2 separate regions of the Homo sapiens genome follow, and region 2 is linked to region 1. The links are contacts of gene promoters, found by promoter capture Hi-C in blood cells and fetal thymus (Javierre and others, 2016). All regions are on one chromosome and are shown on one strand. Each heading gives the region's core, a stretch centred on a gene start or on the middle of the fragment in contact. The rest is flanking DNA. Distances are from core to core; before and after follow the strand shown. Region 1 holds the start of PIK3CB (phosphatidylinositol-4,5-bisphosphate 3-kinase catalytic subunit beta). Region 2 overlaps CEP70 (centrosomal protein 70).

Region 1 (6,502 bases), core at 2,044-4,543:
TATTTATTGGGGCCAGGCACAGTGGCTGACGCCTGTAATCCCAGCACTTTGGGAGGCCAAGGCGGGAGGAACACGAGGTCAAAAGACTGAGACCATCCTGGCCAATATGGTGAAACCCCATGTTTACTAAAAATACAAAAATTAGCGGGGCATGGTGGTGTGCACCTGTAGTCCCAACTAATTTGGAGGCTGAGGCAGGAGAATCGCTTGAACCCGGGAGGTCACAGTGAGCAGAGATCGTGCCATTGCACTCCAGCCTGGCGACAGAGAGAGACTCCATCTCAAAACAAACAAACAAACAAAACAGAGGCCCATAAGACTGGGTAACATCCCCATAGCCCCAGCTGTTTTTACCCAGGTTGAGGCCTAAAACCAAGAGGTGACTTCTGACTCCCAGCCTTTTCACAGTGGCTAGCAGTAGTTCTACTGTTGAGTTCAACAGTCTAAGCTAGACAACTGGGAAAACCTCAAGAAAGAACATAATTTAGACTACAGTGTTCATTTTTCACTTTTTTCCATATAGTTGGCTGACATTCACAAAGCAAGTTGAAGCAAAAGCCTTTATGGATGAGTCTTTAAGAACACCAAGAAAGATAGGCAAGAGGTGCAAAATGACAAATCAAAACCCGACTTGATTTTCAACACTTCTAAAAAACACTCCGAAGGTGGTGGACTCAGGGTGTGAATCAGGGGTGTAAATTAGATTTTTGCTTCTTAAGTCATTTTGGCTTTAGTGAATACAATTCCAGTTTAAACCTTTAAGATTTTTACTTTCGGCCGGTCGCGGTGGTTCATGCCTGTAATCCCAGCATTTTGGGAGGCCCAGGCTGGCGGATCATTTGAGCCCAGGAGATCAAGACCAGCCTGGCCAACATGGCAAAACCACCTCTCTACCAAAAATACAAAGATTGGGCCGGGCGCGGTGGCTTCCTCCTGTAATCCCAGCAGTTTGGGAGGCCGAGGCGGGCGGATACCTGAGGTTGGGAGTCCGAGACCACCCTGACCAACATGGAGAAACCCCGTCTCTACCAAAAAAAGTACAAAATTAGCCGCGTGTGGTGGCACATGCCTGTAATCCCAACTACTCGGGAGGCTATGGCAGGAGAATCGCTTGAACCCGGGAGGCGGAGGTTGCGGTGAGCTGGAGATCGCGTCATTGCACTCCAGCCTGGACAACAAAAGCGAAACTCCGTCTCAAAAAAAAAAAAAAAAAAACAAAATTGAAAGATTGGCCAGGCGTGGTGGCACGCCCCTGTAGTCTCAGCCACTAGGGAGCCTGAGGCAGGAGGATCGCTTGAACCCAGGAGGCGGAGGTTGCAGTGAGCCAAGATGGCGACATTGCACTCCAGCCTGGGCGACAGACCGAGACCCTGCCTCAAAAAACAACAATAATTTTTTTTTAAAAAAGAAGCAAGATTCGGTCTCAAAAAGATTTTTTTTTTTTCTTTTTGAGACAGGGTATCCCTCTGTTGCCCAGGCTGGAGTCCAGTGGTGCCATCTCGGCTCACTGCAACCTCCGCCTCCCGGGTTCAAGGGATTCTCCTGCCTCAGCCTCCCAAGTAGCTGGGATTACAAGCGCCCGCCACCACGCCCTGCTAATTTTTGTGTTTTTGGTAGAGACGGGGTTTCACCATGTTGCTTGGGCTGGTGTCGAACTCCTGGAATCAATTGATCCGCCCGCCTCGGCCTCCCAAAGTGCTGGGATTACAGGCGTGAGCCAACGCACCTGGTCAGAAAAAAGACTTTACTTTCTTCCATACCTGCATTCTGAAACTGGGTTAAGATCCTTATCTGACCACCCTTTCCTGTGCTACATTATTATGACTTAAACAGTTCTGCTTTTACCATAAAATCTTACAATGTAGCATAAAAATCCCCAAATGATTAATGAACTGCTGAGACCTCTGACTCGTTGGAGACAATTTTATTACGAATCATATCTCCAAACTTCCATTCAGTGCTTCAAAATAAGTACTCATTTAATTATCATGACTTCACCAGACAGTCACACTGCCCACAATGATGTTTACAAAAGCACTTGTCACTCCCTTTGGATGTAGCAATGCAGAAAAAAGAGTCTGTTTCCATACTCTTCGTGTGTTTATAACTCTGTAACAAGTGGCAGAGTTCAAGTGTCACTTGAGATGAAACAGCAAAGCACTTCAAGTTTACGTCCCACCATCTTTCATCCTAAGCGAATCCCGAATTTGCTCGGTTTCATTTCAGCAGTAATTCCCACTCAGTACCTGAGACAGGGTTCCAATTCAGCCCTGCGGGAAGAGACTGCAGGATTCTAGTAAGGGACTATAGGATTCTATTTTGGCCACTGCGAGGTTAACAGGCTCCAATATTAAGCAACTCCAGTATCGGTTACTGCAACACCAGAGCAGATCGGAAATAAATGTGCCCCCAAACGCACGCCAGCAGCCAGGAATTAGCAATAGCTAACACGAGATGCTGCAGCAGGGGTATCATTTACTTAGCACTTGTTCAGTTATGCCTAACCTCACAACAACCTTATGGTGTATGTATTATTATTTCCATTTAACACATCAGGATATTTTGGCCCAAGGCCCCAGGACTGGTCAGCAGCGGCGTTGGGATTCGAAAACATGTCCATAACCTAATAACCCTGGGTCCACGCCTCTGAAATACACTTCTGCGCAAAAAGGCACCTGAGGGTCGGGAAGTTCCGGAGGTGTCCGCATAGACGCGGGGCGCGAGTACGCCGTCTCTCCACAGAAACGCCCCTCAGGAACGGGACCCAAAGCGACAGTGACCCGGGACGCCCGGCAGCGTCTCTGCCGCCCAGGGGCCGGGGGGCGCCACTCACCTTGGAGAGCCCAGGGCGGGCCGCAACCAAGCCAGACGCCCCCACCGGCCGGTAGGCGGTTATCCTCCAAGCTGGCAGGAAGCGCGGTGCAACCACAAGAGTCGCCAGCGCCGCAGGTAGCGGCAAGCTAGAACGCACCGCCAGCACGCCCGGGGGCACCGCAGCCGGCGCCGCGACCCAGCCGCCCCTCAGCCGCGCCGCATCCGGGTCCCGGCCGCCGCACTCACCTGCCTGGCGTTCCGCCGCCGCCGCCTGCTACTATTCCAAGTGCGCAGTCAGCAGCCCAGGCCGCCGCAACCGCTCCACTCCGGCGCCCCCATCCCTGCCTCTCTCGATCACCTCCCGCCTGCCCCGCGCAGCACTACACTCGCCCCCTCCCCACTGCCATGGCCCGCTCCGCCGCAGCGCCGCACAGGCCGACAGAGCACGCGCGCGCCGCCGCCGAACCCGCGCCCGTGTGCGCGCGCGCCAGCCTCTCAGGCCTGCATCCCAGCAGCCCCCGCCCCGCCCTGCGCCGCCCTCGGGCCAATCCCGGGCCCCGCGGTGGCGGCGGCGGCGGCGGCGGCAGTTGGGCTGGCAGGGTGTGGGGAGAGGCCTCACTGCCGATTCCTCTACCGTTGCCAGCCCGGCTGCGACGCTGCTGCACGGCCTTTCCTAACTCTCTTTGCGACTCCCAGAGGACTGCGGAATAGGGAATCCCCGGCAAGTCGCCTTCAGGAGAGACCCATCACCCGCTGCGGCCTCCATAACCTCCTCCCGAGAGATTCCGCTCTTCCTAGGTTCCTTGCTGGCCTTTTCTTCCCAGCCCTTCTCCCTGTTCTGCGACATGGACTGACTCCTAAATTCTTGGACGCAGCACTTATTTTTTTCCCGATACCCGTCTCCGTCTTTCACTCCCTTTGTGAGGATAGGGCGCTAGCTCGGCTGCCTCACAGCTGGCCCTTCAGTCCCTACACTGTGAATGGTTGTTTCTAGGGAAAAGTCCAGGCTTTCAAGCCCAAGATTCTTGTTCTTTGTTCAATTTTGCAGTAACAACACCTAACATTTGTCTGCAGAGCCTTAAACTTTACCCCTTTTTGCCTACCTTGTTTCCTGTTACCTTTGACCCCAACCGCGAAAAATCACAGTCCTCTTTCTAGTGGGACACTTAAATTTTACTTACTGAAAACCAACATTTTAACTCACTCCAAAGCTAGTATATTCTAACGTAATGCTCCTATATTACCCTGGACAAATAGTTGAGTAGTCAGGGATAAAATCTAGAAGTACAACATAATAAAAAGCAAACGTGACAAATCAATTAAGTGACAAACCAATAGTTTATTTGAGAAATGATCCTAGTTTTTTTATTTTTTATTTATTTACTTATTTTGAATGAGAGTTTCGCTACTGTTGCCCAGGCTGGAGTGCAATGGCGCGATCTTGGCTCACCGCAACTCTGCGTCCCCCGGTCAAGCGATTCTCCTGCCTCAGCCTTCCTGAGGATTACAGGCATGCGCCACCACGCCTGGCTAATTTTGTATTTTTAGTAGAGACGGGGTTTCTCCACGTTGGTCAGGCTGGTCTCGAACTCCCGACCTCAGGTGATCAGCCCGCCTCGGCCTCCCAAAGGGCTGGGATTACAGACATGAGCCACCGTGCCCGGCCAATGATCCTGGTTTTAATTGACTTTCGATTTAAAGCAAGAACATTGAAAAATAAATTCCAGAAGAGGCTGTAATACCAACACTTTGGGAGGCCGAGGTGGGCAGATCACTTGAGCCCAGGAGTTCACACCTAGCCTGGGCAATATGGCGAGACTGACAAAAATGACGTGAGTGTGGTGATGTGCATCTGTTGTCCCAGCTACTTGGGAGACTGAGGTGGGAGGATAATATGAACCCAGGAAGTCGAGGGAAGTCGAGGCTGGTGTGAGTCGAGATAGCACGGTAGCACCACTGCACTCCAGCCCGGGAAATAGAGCAAGACCCTGTCTAGGAAAAAAAAAAAAAATCCAGAAGAATTAAAAAATATAAAAATTTACAAAACAGAAACTTAAGAGGAAAAAAAAATTTTTTTTTGAGACAGTCTCATTCTGTTGCCCAGGCTGGAGTGCAGTGGCACCATCTCAGCTCATGGCAACCTCCACCTCCCAGGTTCAAGCAGTTCTCTTGCCTCAACCTCCAGAGTAGCTGGGATTACAGGCACCCGCCACCACACACGCCTAATTTTTTTTTTCTTTTTTTGAGACGGAGTCTTGCTCTGTCGTCAGGCTGTAGTACAGTGGCACAATCTCGGCTCACTGCAACCTCCGCCTCCTGAATTCAAGGGATTCCCCTGCCTCAGCCTCCCAAGTAGCTGGGACTGCAGGCGCGCACCACCATGCCCGGCTAATTTTTTGTTTTTTAGTAGAGACGGGATTTCCCTGTGTTGGCCGGGATGGTCTCCATCTCTTGACTTCGTGATCTGCCCGCCTCAGCCTCCCAAAAGTGATGTGATTACTGGCCAATGAGGCAGAAATTTTAAGCAAGACAGGAAGCCCAGAACCATTATAGAAAAAAGAAAAATATTTGCCTACATAAATATTTTGAAGGTTTTGCATGACCTCACAGTGATAAGTTTTGAAAAAGAAAAAACACAATAAGTTGGGAATGATGGCTCACACCTGTAATCCCAACACTTTGGGAGGCCGAGGCGGGTGGATCACCTGAGGCCGGGAGTTTGAGACCAAGCCTGGCCAATATGGTGAAACTTTGTCTCTACTAAAAATACAAAAATTAGCTGGGCGTGGTGGTGCGGGCCTGTGATCCCAGCTACTCTGGAGGCTGGGGTGGGAGAATCGCTTGAACCCAGGAGGCAGAGGTTGCAGTGAGCTGAGATTACGCCATTGTACTCCAGCCTGGACAACAGAGCAAGACTCTGTCTCAAAAATAAATAAATAAATAAATAATAGAAATGCATGGCCGGGTGCTGTGGCTCACTCCTGTAATCCCAGCACTTTGGGAGGCCAAAGCGGGCAGATCACCTGAGGTCAGGAGTTCAAGACCAGCCTGACCAATATGGTGAAACCCCGTCTCTACTAAAAATACAAAAATTATCCGGCCATGGTGGCGGGCATTTGTAGTGCCAACTACTCGGGAGGCTGAGACAGAATTGCTTGAACCTGGGAGACGAAGTTTGCAGTGAGCTGAGATAGTGCCACTGCACTCCAGCCTGGGTGACAGAGCTAGACTCCATCTCAAAAACAGAAAACATAAATTAATTAATTAATTAATTTAATTAAAATCCATTTATAGAACCTCTTTTATGTTAGAGATATAATGTGTTGGCCAGGTGTGGTGGCTCACATCTGCAATCCTAGCACTTTGGGGGCCAAGGTGGGTGGATCCCTTGAGCAATTTTTTAATTTTTATTTTTGAAAAAAGATATAATGTGTTTGCCATATTTTTCTGCAGTTCTATTCCATCTATTGTGTTTTTTCTTTTTCTTTTCTTTCTTTTTTTTTTTTTGAGTTGGAGTCTCACTCTGTCGCCAGGCTGGAGTGCCGTGGCATGATCTCGGCTCTCTGCAACCTCTGCCTGCGGAGTTCAAGCGATTCTCCTGCCTCAGCCTCCTGAGTAGCTGGGACTAAAGGGGTGCACCACCACGCCCAGCTATGTTCTTTTTTTTTTTTTTTGTATTTTTAGTAGA
Region 2 (6,502 bases), core at 1,746-4,245, 330 kb before region 1:
CTGTAGTTCACCTTTCTTGGAAAGGCAGGAGGGAAAAGACACAAGGCTGGAGGCAGCTGGCTCCATGTCTTTCCCAGCCTTCTTTTCTTCCAATTTTTAAAACTAGTAAAATACCCATAAAATTCACCATCTTAACAATTTTTAAATGTAAGTTCAGTGTTAATATGTTCATAATGTTGTGCAACCAACATCACCATCCATCTCCATAATTCTTTTCATCTTGTAACACTGAAACTTTATACCCATTAAACAATAACTTCCCATTTCCCTCCTCCCTCTAGCCATCACCACTCTACTTTGTCTCTATGATTTTCACTAAGTATCTCATACAAGTGGAATCATATAAGTGGAATCTTCTTGTGACTGACTTATTTCACTTAGCATAATGTCCTCATAATGTTCACCCATGTTGCAAGGGTCAGAATTTCTTTCCTTTTAATGGCTGAATAATATTGCAATATATGTATATACCACATTTTGCTTATCCATTCATCCCTCAAACCTATCTTACTCTTTAAAGCCAAATTTAACCTGAGGGAAAAAACTAATCTGGGAAGATGGTTGTCCCAAACTTAGAGGTTGCTACATATCAAATAACCTTTGATATGAGGCCTCAGAGAATCTCATGTAGTTTCTTAATTTGGACCCTGAAACTGTAGTATTAATATCTGAAGCACTGCTCAAAATCCATGAGTTACTCCAATGGCAGAAGTAACTAATTCTTAATAATTTCTTCTTGGGTGTCCTCAGAATATTCTAATTATAAAGCGAATTCCTTGCCTCCTCCTCCTCCTCAGAAAACCATACAATAGCAAGAACTCACCACCATGGCAAAGCCCTTCTTGGGGGCTACAATCAGAGTGTTCTCTTTCTCCTCCAGACTCTAGAGCACAAGTTATCTGCATCATTCACTCAGAACTTCAACCGGTAATCTATTTTTATGTCACTCATTTCCTTTAACGATATAAATGATTACATTTTGTTTCATATTTTTTAGTATATTTTGTCTAATTAGTCTGAATCTTGTGTTCATCCCATAATGGCTTAGCATGATAAACGATCAATAACTATCCATTAGTGTGATTCTTCCCTTTGTCTTCTTCCTCTTCTAGTCTTTTCTTCTAGGAAGGCTAGGGCTTTTTCTAGTCCATCCCTTCTGAGATGAAGAAAGGTGGAGTCAGCACTGTTTCCTCCTACTGGGAGAACCCTCTGACAGGCAGTGATTGAGGAAATACCATGATTTACACTATTACTAATTATTTTACACTCTTCTGAGATACAGACTGGAGGAACTCCGGTCTATAAAGTAAGTATATTAATCTAGCACTGTCACTCAATCAAAATGTTTATGTATTGTATAGCTCTGTCTGAGCCCTATATAAAAAGGGAAGTCGAAATTTAAAAAAAATTAACATCACCACCCCCAATTTTGTTGTCTTGGAATATAATATTCTGCTTCATTCCTTTTAACAAATATTAATTGAGCACTCATTCATCAGGAGGATCTTGGGGACATATCAGAACAAATAAAAACACTGTCTTCATGGAGCTTATACATTCTTAACAGATATCTTCTGCATCATTTGTACTTCATGTAATAAGACTTATGTTGCAAACACTGTTATTGAATCACATTTTCATTAACAGGCATATGCTATGTATTATATTAGTTACTAATAAATCTAAAGTGTAAAGGGCAAAGAAGTTAAATACTACTGATTTCAACTATTTACCTTTCAGCAAACTAGTTAACAAAAACTGAAAAAACCTGAAGCTATGCAATAAATACACAATAACTCTATAAATAAAATGTGGTCTTCCATGAAGAGATAGGATAGGGAAGGGTAGCGTTGGCTGCTAGCTTACTATCTGTTCTAGAGAATAAGCAGAAATGGAGATAAGCTCAGTTCTGAGAGACAGAAAATAAAGTGTGAAGAGAGAGAAAATATCCCCAATTATAATAAAATGAAGGATAAGACATTATATCTGAAGAGGGATAAGGGCCAGGAAAATCGCAGCATGGAGATATGAAAAGGAGGCAGATGAAGGTAGAACAGGGAAGGGCCTAGAAGTACAAAGTGGATCCACTATAGATTTTCAATAAGGAAACTAACCCCAAAATTTCTTGTTTGGTAGAATCTTAGAGGAGGTAAAGCTTACAGTAATGACAACATCAAATAGACAGTACCTAAAATAGATATGTAAGTAGGAAGATTTCGGTTTTAGATAATAAGCTTTTTTAGCTTTAGAGTTAACACACAAACAAAAAAATTAAACCCTATTTAATTTTTAGCCCTGAATTAAGTCCTATTAATAAAGCACATAGAGTCCAATAGATGTTCAAAGCATATAATCATAGTCAACCCCTTACCTTTAAGGATGTCAGTTGATCTGCCCACATTTCTATTACAGGAACAAGATGCTCAAATCCACAATCTTGAACAAGATCTTTATTAAAATTTTGGACTCCCCCTTTGGTCTGTTTATAAATTATTACTGGAGCTCTTGGATTGTGGATAATTGAATTGATGCTACACAGCACCTTTAAAAAAACATAGTGTATATAGTCAAAATATTTATCCTATGCCTACAAAGTTATATATTTTAAAGGAGTGCTTTATGTCTATATATATTATATACACATATTTCATTAAATATACAAAGAAAATTATCATAAGGAATTGGCTCATGCAATTATGAAGACTGACAAGTCCCAAGATCTGCAGTGAGTAAGCGAAGACCCAGAAAAGGTAATGGGTATTTGCAGTCCAAATGCAGGCAGACTGAGACCCCTGCAAGTGCTAATGTTTCAGTTTGAGTCTGAAGGCAAGAAAAAAACCAGTGTCCCATCTTGAAAGCAGTCAGGGAGGAGGAGCTCCCTCTTATTCAGCCTTTTGTTCTACTCAGGGCTTTGAATCATTGGATGAGGCCCACCCCATTAGGAAAGGCAGTCTGATTTACTAAAGTCTACTGATTCGGATGTCAATCTCATCCAGAAGCACCTTCCCAGACACATCCAGAATAATGTTTAACCAAATATCGGGCATCCTATGCCGCAGTAAAGTTGAAACAAAATTAACTATTACAAACACTACCTAGGTTCAAAAATTGTTAGTATTTTGCCATATTTGCTCACTATCTATATTTTTAGGTGAACCATTTGAAGAAACTCTTCACCCTCAAATAATAAAGCATGCATCTTTTAAAAGTAGGCATATTCTCCTACAAACTCACAAGAACATTATCAGACTATTTAAGGAAATTAACAGCAATCCCCAGGCTGAGTGTGGTGGCTCATGCCTGTAATCCCAGCACTTTGGGAGGTTGAGGCAGGAGGATCACTTGAGCCCAGGAATTCAAGGCTGCAGTGAGCTATGATAATGCACTTCAGCCTGGGCAACAGAGCAAGACCCTGTCTCCAAAAATAATATCATTGATGCCTGGATTGAATTTTAGGTATCTTAATATATTAAGATAGTATACTATTTGACTATAACCCTCTCCCCATAAGTGATGGGTTCTACCTTACATATCATCCGAGGAAAAAAAGGGAGACCTCAAAAAGCATGTTTAAAGAGAGAAGAATAAAGCCATTTCCTATTACCACCATCAAGTTCAGCCTATTTAATAAAAAGTTTCACAATATAAAGATAGCATTTTGCTCTTGAATCTTTGTCCCTGGTCATACTTCAAGATATAACTAATAGGCCTCCTGGTAATATGACTTAAGATGTTTATTACTTCAGATGTTTATTTAGAAGCTTTTTAAGTCCAAATTAGTATAATTCAATATTTCACTTCAAATTGATGTATGTATATTTGTTTTATATATTTATTTGACAGAGTCTCACTCTGCAGCCTAAGATGGAGTGCAGTGGTGTGAACGGAGCTCACTGCAGCGTTGAATTCCTGGGCTCAAGTGATCTTCCCATGTCAACCTCTCAAGTGCTAGGACTACAGGCACAAGCCACCATGCCCAGCTAATTAAATTTTTTTTTTTCTAGAGATGTGGTCTCACTATATTGCCCAGGCTGGTCTCAAACTCCTGCCCTCTAGCAATCCTCCTGCCTCGGTCACCCAAAGTGTTAAGATTACAGGCATGAGCCACCATACCCGGCTTGAATTCCCCTTTTAAAGGACAAAGCCTCTCAAATTGAGTCTCAGAAACAAAATGAAATCCAGTTATATACTGGTACAAGAAAGTCTAAAACAAAACAGTTTTCAGAAAGGTGCTTGGTTCCCATTTACAATAGCAATAAAAGTTATAAAATACCTAGGAAATAACAAGGTATTTCCTAACAAGAAATATGCAAGAGCTAAATTTAAAAATACACAACACTTTATTGAAGACTATAAAAGATGACCCTGATGAAAGTACATATTTCTGAATGTGATGATTCAAAAAGGTTAAGGTGTCATTTCTCCAAATATTAATCTATAAAGTCAATTCAATTTTAGTTCATCTCAATGAGATTTATTTTTTAATTTGAAAAACTGTTCATCCAGAAGAATAAATGTGCTAAAAATATAGCCAATAAAAAAAATTTTTTTAATGATAGGATACTTGCCTCAAAGGCTATTAAAACTTTTAACTATAGAAATTAAAATATGGAAATAGTTGAGAAATGCAACAGACTAGAGAATCTAAAAACAAATCTGTGCATATAAATGAATATGATCTATGATAAAATGTTATTTCAATAAAGTAGAGAAAAAAGTAGCGTATTAGAGACTGCAAACACAAATGCCCAGAGAATTCAGGTACGAGTATAAATGAGTGACGTAAGGATGAATAGGGACTGCTAACTATAGAACACATGCTCATATCTGACAAGGGAAAGGCCTAATTCTGCTGTGATAATAACCATGCAGGAATTTGTTGCCAGATCTTCTGACTTTTTAGGAGAAGTTAGAAATAGCAGCCTAGAAAAAATAAAATATCTTAATTTTTAAAAAAATGAATAATCTAAAACTTAAAAATCTTATGTGTACCCAATAAAATGTGAGTGAAAGTCCAGTTCAGTCACTAAACTACCAGGTTTAACTGCTCAGCTATTCAATAAATGATCTATAAAACTAGGAAGGTGAGATTCCCTATATCACACCATATAGAAAATTAAATTTCAGATGAACTAAGGTCTCTAAACAAAAACAAAAGCCATACAAGGACCCTAAGAAAATAGATTTACTTAATAATAATGGTAACAACAGAAACAATACGAGGGAAAATGGCTTACATGGGGAAAGTAGGGAAAAGGATTATAGAAACTTTTAAAAATCATAAAGCTCTTTACTAACCTCCTTTGAACTAGGCCAGAGTCTCTTTTAAGTAGTAAGACGAATTCTACAATGTTTTTAGTCAAATAGTTATGTCACGGAAAGACAAGACAGAATAAGTACACATAAATATGAGGTGCAAGTATTCCTTACCAACTGATAATTTATTACACCACAACTGATAACCAAGATTCATGACAAACATCAGTCTTTTTGTCATGAAAAATCAATTCAATACCTGAAAGTATCTCTGGTCAATTAGGGCCTGTTGCTGATTATATTTGCTGGGCTCATCTTTCTTCTCTGTGTCCTCAGCCTTCTTATGATTAATAAGCTCCTGTAATCTAAAAGGGGGAAAAAAATCAAGATAATACAAAATTACTTCCTAGACACTGGACCAAGATGATAAACTAAGTCAATGATCCAGCCACCCTCCCAACAGCCTTATATCACTTTACTTATATGTGTGTGTGCACACATGTATGTATGTGTATGTATAAACACATACATATATGCATATATAGAGTTAAAAAAAATTTTTTTTTTTTTTTGAGACAGAATCTCGCTCTATCACCCAGGCTGGAGTGCAGTGGCGCAATCTCGGCTCACTGCAAGCTCCGTCTCCCGGGTTCACACCATTCTCCTGCCTCAGCCTCCTGAGTAGCTGGGACTACAGGCGCCCGCCACCATGCCTGGCTAATTTTTTATATTTTTAGTAGAGACGGGGTTTCACCGTGTTAACCAGGATGGTCTCGATCTCCTGACCTCGTGATCCACCCACCTCAGCCTCCCAAAGTGTTGGGATTACAGGCGTGAGCCACCGTGCCCGGCCAGAGTTTAAAATTTTTTAAATCATATTGTCACTGGAAAACTAGAAGGCCCTCTCAATAAATCGCAAATTAGAAGGAATCTCTGAAGACAGAAGAGATCAGATTGAAGAAGAAAGTTCTAACCACCCCCCAGCACCCACAAAAGACAGCACAAGAGAGAAATACAACAAAGGATGGAAGCGACTTCCATCCAACGTGCTCCAAGATCACAGACTACAGATAAAGGGAGCAGGAAGCATGGGAAGGGCCACTGGTTTGGGTACTGTAGCAGGAACAGCTAGACGTTTGGTCCCTCTCTCTTTGTATTCTACCAGTGGCAAAGAACAGAAAATGGCAATGCCTGGGCCAGTCAAGAGGGCGTGGAGATCCAACAGACCATTATTCCAGGTGGCTAC

The links. Contacts are between HindIII fragments. The CHiCAGO score rates a contact against its expected background, and 5 or more counts as called.
Region 2: a contact is called between a fragment that was not itself captured here and the fragment with the promoter of PIK3CB in region 1, in 1 of 17 cell types (fetal thymus). The highest score is 5.9, in fetal thymus.

The regions. Positions count from the first base shown.
Region 1 is chr3:138,831,635-138,838,136 of GRCh38, forward strand. PIK3CB (phosphatidylinositol-4,5-bisphosphate 3-kinase catalytic subunit beta) reads right to left here and starts at 3,294. Exons shown (of 24, transcript NM_006219.3): 1 at 3,061-3,294. RefSeq lists a silencer at 2,791-3,530. The HindIII fragment of the contact is 25,969 bases long and covers 1-6,502 here.
Region 2 is chr3:138,502,924-138,509,425 of GRCh38, forward strand. CEP70 (centrosomal protein 70) reads right to left here. Exons shown (of 18, transcript NM_024491.4): 12 at 5,516-5,621; 13 at 2,372-2,542. Among named protein-coding and RNA genes, the nearest start is that of ESYT3, 72 kb to the left of the region's middle. The HindIII fragment of the contact is 1,527 bases long and covers 2,233-3,759 here.